Regions from separate parts of the Homo sapiens genome. Here region 2 is linked to region 1. Evidence: promoter capture Hi-C in 16 types of primary human blood cells and fetal thymus (Javierre and others, 2016). All regions are on one chromosome and are shown on one strand. The core of a region is centred on a gene start or on the middle of the fragment in contact, and the rest is flanking DNA. Distances in the headings are between cores, read along the strand shown.

Region 1 (4,020 bases), core at 139-2,638:
AAACTGCTTAATTTCATTGTCTGAACCTGTTTCTTTATGGTTAAATAAGTTTCCTAAAAAGCACTTTTCATTTTTTTACATAATGGGAAAACCAGGTATAAAATTACAAGAAAAACAGATTTTGAACCTCTCTCCTCAACTTTTTAAAATGGAAAATGTATCTCCTGAGGGCTTTCTTGATTTATTCTAGGATTAAAAAAATTCATTCTTAACAACAATAACAACAATAATAAAGTTCCTACTCCTTGGAATTTATTCACTAAATAAGCAACACCTTTTAAAATCTACTCCATTAGAACTCTACCCCACAACCTCCCCACCATATATATGCAAGTCCATATAAATCCAAATCTCAAAAAGCTGATATACAAACCACTCAGAACATTTTTCGTGAAATATCTGTTTTAATTCAGCAGTAAAAGGCAGCACATGATCAGAAATATGTAGGGTTGTGAAAGAGCTTGCCAGGAAATGAGAGCTGTTGCACAGGGTATCAGCAACTGTGTACAGCTTGGCAAGGTTTTCAGTCCTGTCCTCCAGGGAGGATCTTGACTTCTCAGTTCCCACTTCAGGAATACATGGTCAACTGCAGCCATTCTTTGATAGACACTTGAATCAGGCCATCTCTATCTCTATCCAGAGACTTGAAGGCACGAAACATGGCATCCAGGCGGACCAAGCAGCTGATGAAATTGTTAAAATCCATATCTCCATCTTCATTAGCATACCGGCGGACAATCATTTGGTAAAGTTGTTCATTTAGCTGGAAGCCTGCGGCCTGCAGAGCTCCCCGCAGCTGAGAACTTCCCAGAGACCCAGAATGGTCCCTGTCATACTGCTTATAAACACACTGCCATTTCTTGATGTTGTTCCACAGATACTTAAATTCTTCAAAGCCCAGCTTACCAGTCGTGTCACTGTCCATGACAGACACAATGCTCCGGCAGGTGTCAAGACTAAAACCGTCAGTCTTAAGATCTTTGTGCTTAGAAAGGACTTTGTTGAGAATATTCATCAGATCAGTGGCACCCACCTCCATGTCTGGTCCAGCCAGCTGTGTAAATTGTTGCCGAAATCGCCTAACTTCCTCACTTTCTGAGGCCTCCACACTGGTGAAATGCTGCTGAGTGGGAGGCGGTTCTGGAGTATACTGAGCTGCTGCAGCCTCACTGATAAAATTCACAATTCCTCCAACTATCCCTCCAATATTTCTTCCTCCTCCTTCTCTTCTCTGACCACCTCCTCCAAAGAGGCCTCCAAGAGCTTCTCCAAGACCTCGATCTGCTCCTTCCAATAGAGCCTTTGCAAGAAACATGCTTTCAGTTTAACAAGCAAATGCGGCAGCAATCTTAGAGATGGTATGAAAAAAGATGAAATGGAGTTCAAGTAGTTTACATGTGGAAGAACTGGCTTTTCTTTACCTGCTTACACTGCACCACGCCCCATGATGTGATGTTTCACATCCTACTGAAGATACCTGAGTTCCATGAGGTCCTAGCACCTGCCATATTTTACAAGGCCTCAATAAAATTGTTTTCACTCTTCCAGATACTTATAAATTATAGTATGTAGGACACCTTAGGATAATAGTTTTAAAGAAAAAATATTAAAGTATGCATTTTTATGTCATTGATTTCTTAGTCCTCTGTCTCAGCACCTAAAAAATGATGTGCATTTTCCTAACAGGAAAAAGGTAAATGATGCAAGGAAATCAAAAATTTATTCTCTAAGAAATATTTATTGTTAGAATAGAATTGAAGAAATCTTGGGCATTGGAAGAATATTTAATCCTCTTCCTTTAGCAAAGATTCTCAAAATCCAGTAGTCTTAAGAAAAATTTAGAAGGGAGATTTTTAAAATGCAAGGTCCTGAATTTCCACTCCCAGAGATTCTGATTCCATAGGGCTGCTGTGGTGTCTGTGATCGACATTGCTAAAATCTTTTTTGAAATGTAACATTCATGTAAAAAATGTATCATATAAATCACAAATGGATAGCTCAAAGAATTTCACAGACTGCACACATCTCAGAGGCCTCTTCATACTTCTTTCTAGTTACTTCCGTCTTCCAAGGATAACCACTGTCCTGACATCTAACACCATAGATTTATTTTTGCACCTTAAATAAATTAAATCAGACAGTACAGACTCTTTCATTTATTCCTTTTTCATTATAAAAATGTTAAATGTTTTAAAATTGTGATAAAATACACATGCCATAAAATATACTATTTTAACCATTTTTAAGTATAGAGTTCAGTGGCATTAAGTATATTTGCATTGTGAAACCATCACCACCAGCTATCTTCAGAACTTTTTTCATCTGGCAAAACTGAAACTGTACCCATTAAAGAATAACTCCCATTCTCCCCTTCCCCCACCCCTGGTAACCATCTCTCTATTTTCTAGCTCTATGATTTGACTACTCTGCATGCCTTATATAAGTGGAATCATACAGTATTTGTTCTTTTGTGACTTGCTTATTTCAATGAGCATAATTTCTTCAAGATTCATCCATGTTGTATCATGTGTCAGAATTCCCTTCCTTTCTAATGATGAATAATATTGTATTGCATTAATATACTCATTTTGTTTTTCCATTATCCCATTGGTGAATACTTGGGTTGCCCTTTTGGCTATTGGGAATAATGCTGCTATGAACATGGGTATACAAATATTTGTTTGAGTCTTTGCTTTCAATTCTTTTGGGTATATACCAAGAAGTGGAATTGCTGAATCATATGATAATTCTATTTTTATCTTTTTAAGGAACTACCATACGCTTTTCCTTATTGACTGTACCACTTACATCCCCACCAGCAATACACAAGAGTTCCAATTACTCCATATGCTTGCAAACACTTGTTATTTTCTCTTTTGTTTTGTTTTCTAATAATAGCCATCCTAATGGCTGTAAAGTGGTATAACATTGTAGTTTTGATTTGCATTACCCTAATGATTAATGATGTTGAGCATCTTTTAATGTATTAATACTTACTGACCAAAGAAGATCTTTGGAAAAATGTCTATTTAAATCTTTTGGCCATTTTAAAATCTGGTTATTTGTTGGGTTTCTTGTTGTTGAGTTGCAGGAGTTCTTTAAATATTCTAGATATTAATCCCTTATCAGATATATAATTTGTAAATATTTTCTTTCATTCTGTAGGTTACCTTTCCACTCTGTTGTTAGTGTCCTTTGATGCACAAAAGTTTAAAATTTGTATGTGGTCATATTTATCTATTTTTCTTTGGCTGCCTGTGCTTTTGGCGTAATATTCAAGAAATCATTGAGAAATCCAGTGTCATGAAGCTTTTCCTCTGTTTTCACTGAAGAGTTTTATAGTTTCAGCTCTTATGTTTAGATCTTTGATCCATTTTGAGTTAACTTTTGTATATGTGTAAGTTAAGGGTCCAACTTCATTCTTTTGCATGTGGATATATAATTTTCCCAGCACTATTTGTTGAAAAGACCGTCCTTTCCCCATTGAATGGTTTTGGCATTCTTGCTGAAAATCATATGACCATATACACAAGGGTTTCTTCTGGGATCTCTATTCTATTCCATTGGCTTATATGTCTTTCTTGAAACCAGTGCTGCACTGTTTTGATTACTGTAGGTTTGAAGTAAGGTTTGAAATGAGGAAATGTCAGGCTTTCAACTTTGCTATTCTTTTTCAAGATTGTTTTGGCTATTCAGTGTCCCTTGAAATTCCCTATGAATTTTAGGATTGATTGTTCTATTTTTGTAAAGAAACATTGGGACTTTGAAAAGGATTGCTTTAAATCTGTAGATCACTGTGGGAAGTACTGACTCTTAATATTGTCTTCTAATCCATAAACATGGAATATCTTTCCATTTATTTGTCTCTTCTTCAATTTCTTTCAGCAGTGCTTTGTAGTTTTCAGTGTACAAGTCTTTAGCTTCCTTCTTGAAGTCTATTCCTAAGTATTTTAATTTTTTCTATGCCATTGTAATGGAATTGTTTTCTTAGTTTCCTTTTCAGAATTGTTCATTGTTGGT
Region 2 (3,929 bases), core at 363-2,862, 280 kb before region 1:
TGTCTCTGGATTAGGTGGTTGTGGGAGGGGTGGATCAGAGATGCTCTGGGCCACTTTATGGCTCTAGGCCGTGAAAGCAAGCTGGAAACTGAATTGCCTCTGCAGCTGCAGAAGACTAATTTCTATATTGATATTTGGAAAAACTAACAGCTAGAAAACACCACTCAACTCATTTTTAAAAATACGATCATATTAAATGACATTACACGCATCATTTATATATTGCTCGCAGTGCCAGCATCCTCAAATGTGTTTCTAATTTTGGTAGATATCTTGCTAGGGGGAGCACATTTCTAAGTTATCCAGATATAGGGCCCTCTTTCCTTCTCTTTCTGTCCACATGCAATCAGATGCTTTGTGGAGTTAAAGTTGACATTTATTTAAATGCCACTTTGTGTCTGTTTTTTTCCCCTTTAATTTAGAGTTTTCTATCTGGAATGTAAGTAAAATAATCACTTGGAGGGTTTTTCTAAAATACCAATGGCCAGGCCACTAGCCAGTCAATCGGAAGCAAAATCTCCTTGGATGGGACCTAGAAGTATTTTCAGTTTTCTGGCATTTTAATGAACACCCCGATTAAGAACCACTGGGTCTTAAGAGTGTGGCATATGTATTTTTCAAGTTCCTAGAGGCTCTCCAAAACAACAAAAAAATCTGCTTTATTTTCTGCCTGGTGTTGACGTGTCACAGTTTCTTTAGCCACTAGTCTTATCCTGGATATTTATGGTCATAATTTGATGAGCAACATTGGGAATGACTTCTTTTTTTTTGTTTTGTTTTGAGACAGAGTCTCACTCTTTCACCCAGGCTGGAGTGTAGTGGCGCGATCTCTGCCCACTGCAACCTCCACCCCAGTATTTTTACTTTTAAATATTATTTATGGCATCTAGATTTGCATAAGATGGACTGGGTCAACGGCCATGCCCTTTATAAGTCAATATTTTTGAGTTCTACAAATTCACTTTCCTAAAGCGCCAAATCACATCCTACTCACCAGCAAGACAGGTACACATCATTTTCACAATCACTTCTAATTTTCCACCATTGTAAAAAAAATAAAATATTTAACCACTTTCTTATTGTAAAATAAACAATTTACTTTTCCAGGACCCACTGCCTCCCCCTCCCCACTCTCCCCTTTTTTTTAAACAATCTTGAACCCTATCCATTAAATTAAATCAAAGCAAAACTTTAGGGACAAACTACGTCGGTCTTCACCTGTGAATTTCCTGATGTCCAGTAGAGGGCAGCATTATCACAAAGGAAAAACGCTTCCCTCTATTCTGAGGCTCCTGAGATGCTGGTGGTGTGACATCGCAGAACTTGGACTGACAATAAGACCATGCCAAATAGTTAAATTATATACAAGCCAATACAATATAGTGTTATCCATTCCATCTGTAACATTTGGAAAGAGGAAAAGGCAGAATCCACTCCCTGAAAAGTCTGACTGAAAAGACTAAACTCACTAGCAGAACAGAGGTTGGAGCCAGCAGTTTTTCCCTTTTCCACCTCCTGGACTTTCCCATTAAGTCTCCAGGAGCCTACCTCAGAGGGACATAAGGGATTTCCTCTCCTTGGACCAACTCAGTCCAGATTCCCCCAGGGCAGAGCTGCAGGGGAGGGTGGGAAGCGGGCTCAGGCCCTGCACCTGGGTAGCTGCCCCACCTGGTGCTGCCCCAGGTAGCGCATCTACAAGATGAGCCTCCCTTCCCCCAGCAGGGACAGATCCCACTCAGTCCTGCCCCGTATGCTCTGCTAAAAGTTCGTATTGAGAGTGTGCCTCATTATTCCCAAGGACGGGAAGGGCTGGGGAGAAAAAAACCTACCTTGCCGCTTGATTGTCTCAAAATACAAGGAAATTCATTGCAAAGAGCTCGCTGTGCTCCATGAATGGGGTGGAGCTCAAGTCTGAAATTAAAGGATGGGTAGGAAGGGGGATGGCCAGCCACAGCATGGCGGAAGTGTGACCCTGAGCAGTGGTGGCAAGGGGGCCAGCCCACGGGCAGCAGGGCTGGTGTTGGCAAGGTTGCTGGAGCACACTGTGGGTGCCTGGAGGACAGCTTTTCTACCTTGACCTTTAGGAAACAGACTTCTCTCTTTATCGGAAGATAATGCCATAAAATATCTATCTATCTATCTGTCTGTCTGTCTGTCTGTCTGTCTGTCTGTCTGTCTATCTACCTATCTACCTACCTACCTATTATCTATCATCTATCAATTATCTATGATCTATCTATTATCTATCTAATCTATTTATTTCATTTATTACATTTATTTATGTAATTGTGTTTCAAGCTCTATTCACCTCCTGAACTTTTCATATGAGAGAACAGAACTCTGGCTGATACCTTCGGTATTTTTAGAAGGATTGGTACACTTTGATTGTTATTTATCACTATATAAGTCCTCCATTAGTTTCACTGCATGCAACAATTGAGTTATAGAAGCACATTTCTGAAAATAAGTTATTCAATGGGAAAAATGGACTGTTGATGGCCAATTAGTAATATGAAGGCAAGGACAAACTTGTCCACCATCATGAGAGCTTGTTTGGTGGCCAGGCATTGACTTCATCAAGAGTCATCATTACTGCAGCCATTACATGAGCTTTGGGAAACTTCTTCCTTTTGACACTCAGATCTCTGGACAGAAATCATCTTATGTTGACATCTGGCAAGGCCCTTCCGATATTCTGTTGTAATTAGGTGGTTGGAGTTCCTGGGGTCAGCCCAGTTCTAGGAGTGGCAGAGGCAAAGAGCCTCCAGGAAACTTTGGCCTTGGGGTGGAGCTCAAAGGGGAGAGGTGCACTCCCCATGGGCATAAATGGGGGTTACCTACACCCCAACTTCTACAGGCATCCAATACCCCTAAACCCAGAGAGTCTTTTCTGTCTCTATTCTGATTGCATAGGTGCATGGTGGTGTCTTTCTTTCCAGGAGTTAACGTCTCCTTTTTCTGTTCTAAAACTAGTTATCGTCATTCTGTTGGCCTCTCAGTGTCCAAAATGCTGTCATTTCTTCTTTCACAGTTTGTCAGTGTGGGTTTGTAGCTTTAAAAACTTTATTTCACTGTTTTTTTTTAGGATAATTGGAGGGGGGAAATAAAAAATTTTGGATCCCTCTTCTTTCACAGGAAGTGGTAAACCGTTTTTCCTTTACACAAACATTTAAAAACAATTTTTTCTACCTTTCTGACAGCTACATTGCATCCCATAGTATAATACTCAATAAATTATTTAACTGTCTACTATTGTTAGCCATTCGAATGATTTCCTATTTTGTACCATTGTCAACTTCACTGAGGTGACCACCTGATACATATATCTTTGGGCTCATTCAGAATTATTCCTAGAGAATAGTGCTTTAAAATAAAGGTTTTATCATTATTTAGGTATGGCAGGCCCACCAATCAGATGTCAGCCATTGAAAAAGCAATTTGGGCTGGGCATGCTGGCCCACATCTATAATCCCAGCACTTTGGGAGGCCAAGGTGGATGGATTACCTGAGGTCAGGAGTTCGAGACCAGCCTGACCAACATGGTGAAACCCTGTCTCTACTAAAAATACCAAAAAAAAAAAAAAATAGCTGGTGGTGGGTGCCTATAATCCCAGCTACTCGGGAGCCTGAGGAAGGAGAATCACTTGAACCTGGGAGACAGAGGTTGCAGTGAGCCAAGATTGTGCCATTGCACTCCAGGCTGGGCAACAGAGCGAGACTCTGTCTCAAAAAAAAAAAAAAAAAAAAAAAAAGAGAAGAAAGAAAGAAAGAAAAGAAAGAAAGAAAGGATAAGTAGCTTGTTACTCACAGATCCCAAGACAAGACGAGGGGGCACTCCATGCCATGGGAGCAGGAGGCTGCACAGACAACGCTGGAGTCCATCAGAAGGTGGTGGTGATGGGGATGTGGCAAAAGGTGTTCCTGTGGTT

Evidence for each region. The method cuts DNA at HindIII sites, captures the fragments that hold promoters and counts their contacts. A CHiCAGO score of 5 or more calls a contact.
Region 2: a contact is called between a fragment that was not itself captured here and the fragment with the promoter of CAPNS2 in region 1, in 2 of 17 cell types (monocytes and M2 macrophages). The highest score is 8.4, in monocytes.

What each region holds. Positions count from the first base shown.
Region 1 is chr16:55,564,052-55,568,071 of GRCh38, reverse strand. It overlaps CAPNS2 (calpain small subunit 2), which reads right to left and starts at 1,388. Exons shown (of 1, transcript NM_032330.3): 1 at 385-1,388. The coding sequence starts at 1,315. The coding sequence ends at 569. All of the region lies in intron 11 of LPCAT2 (lysophosphatidylcholine acyltransferase 2), which reads right to left. The HindIII fragment of the contact is 9,105 bases long and covers 1-3,311 here.
Region 2 is chr16:55,840,330-55,844,258 of GRCh38, reverse strand. No RefSeq gene overlaps it. Among named protein-coding and RNA genes, the nearest start is that of CES1, 9.2 kb to the right of the region's middle. The HindIII fragment of the contact is 6,371 bases long and covers 1-3,929 here.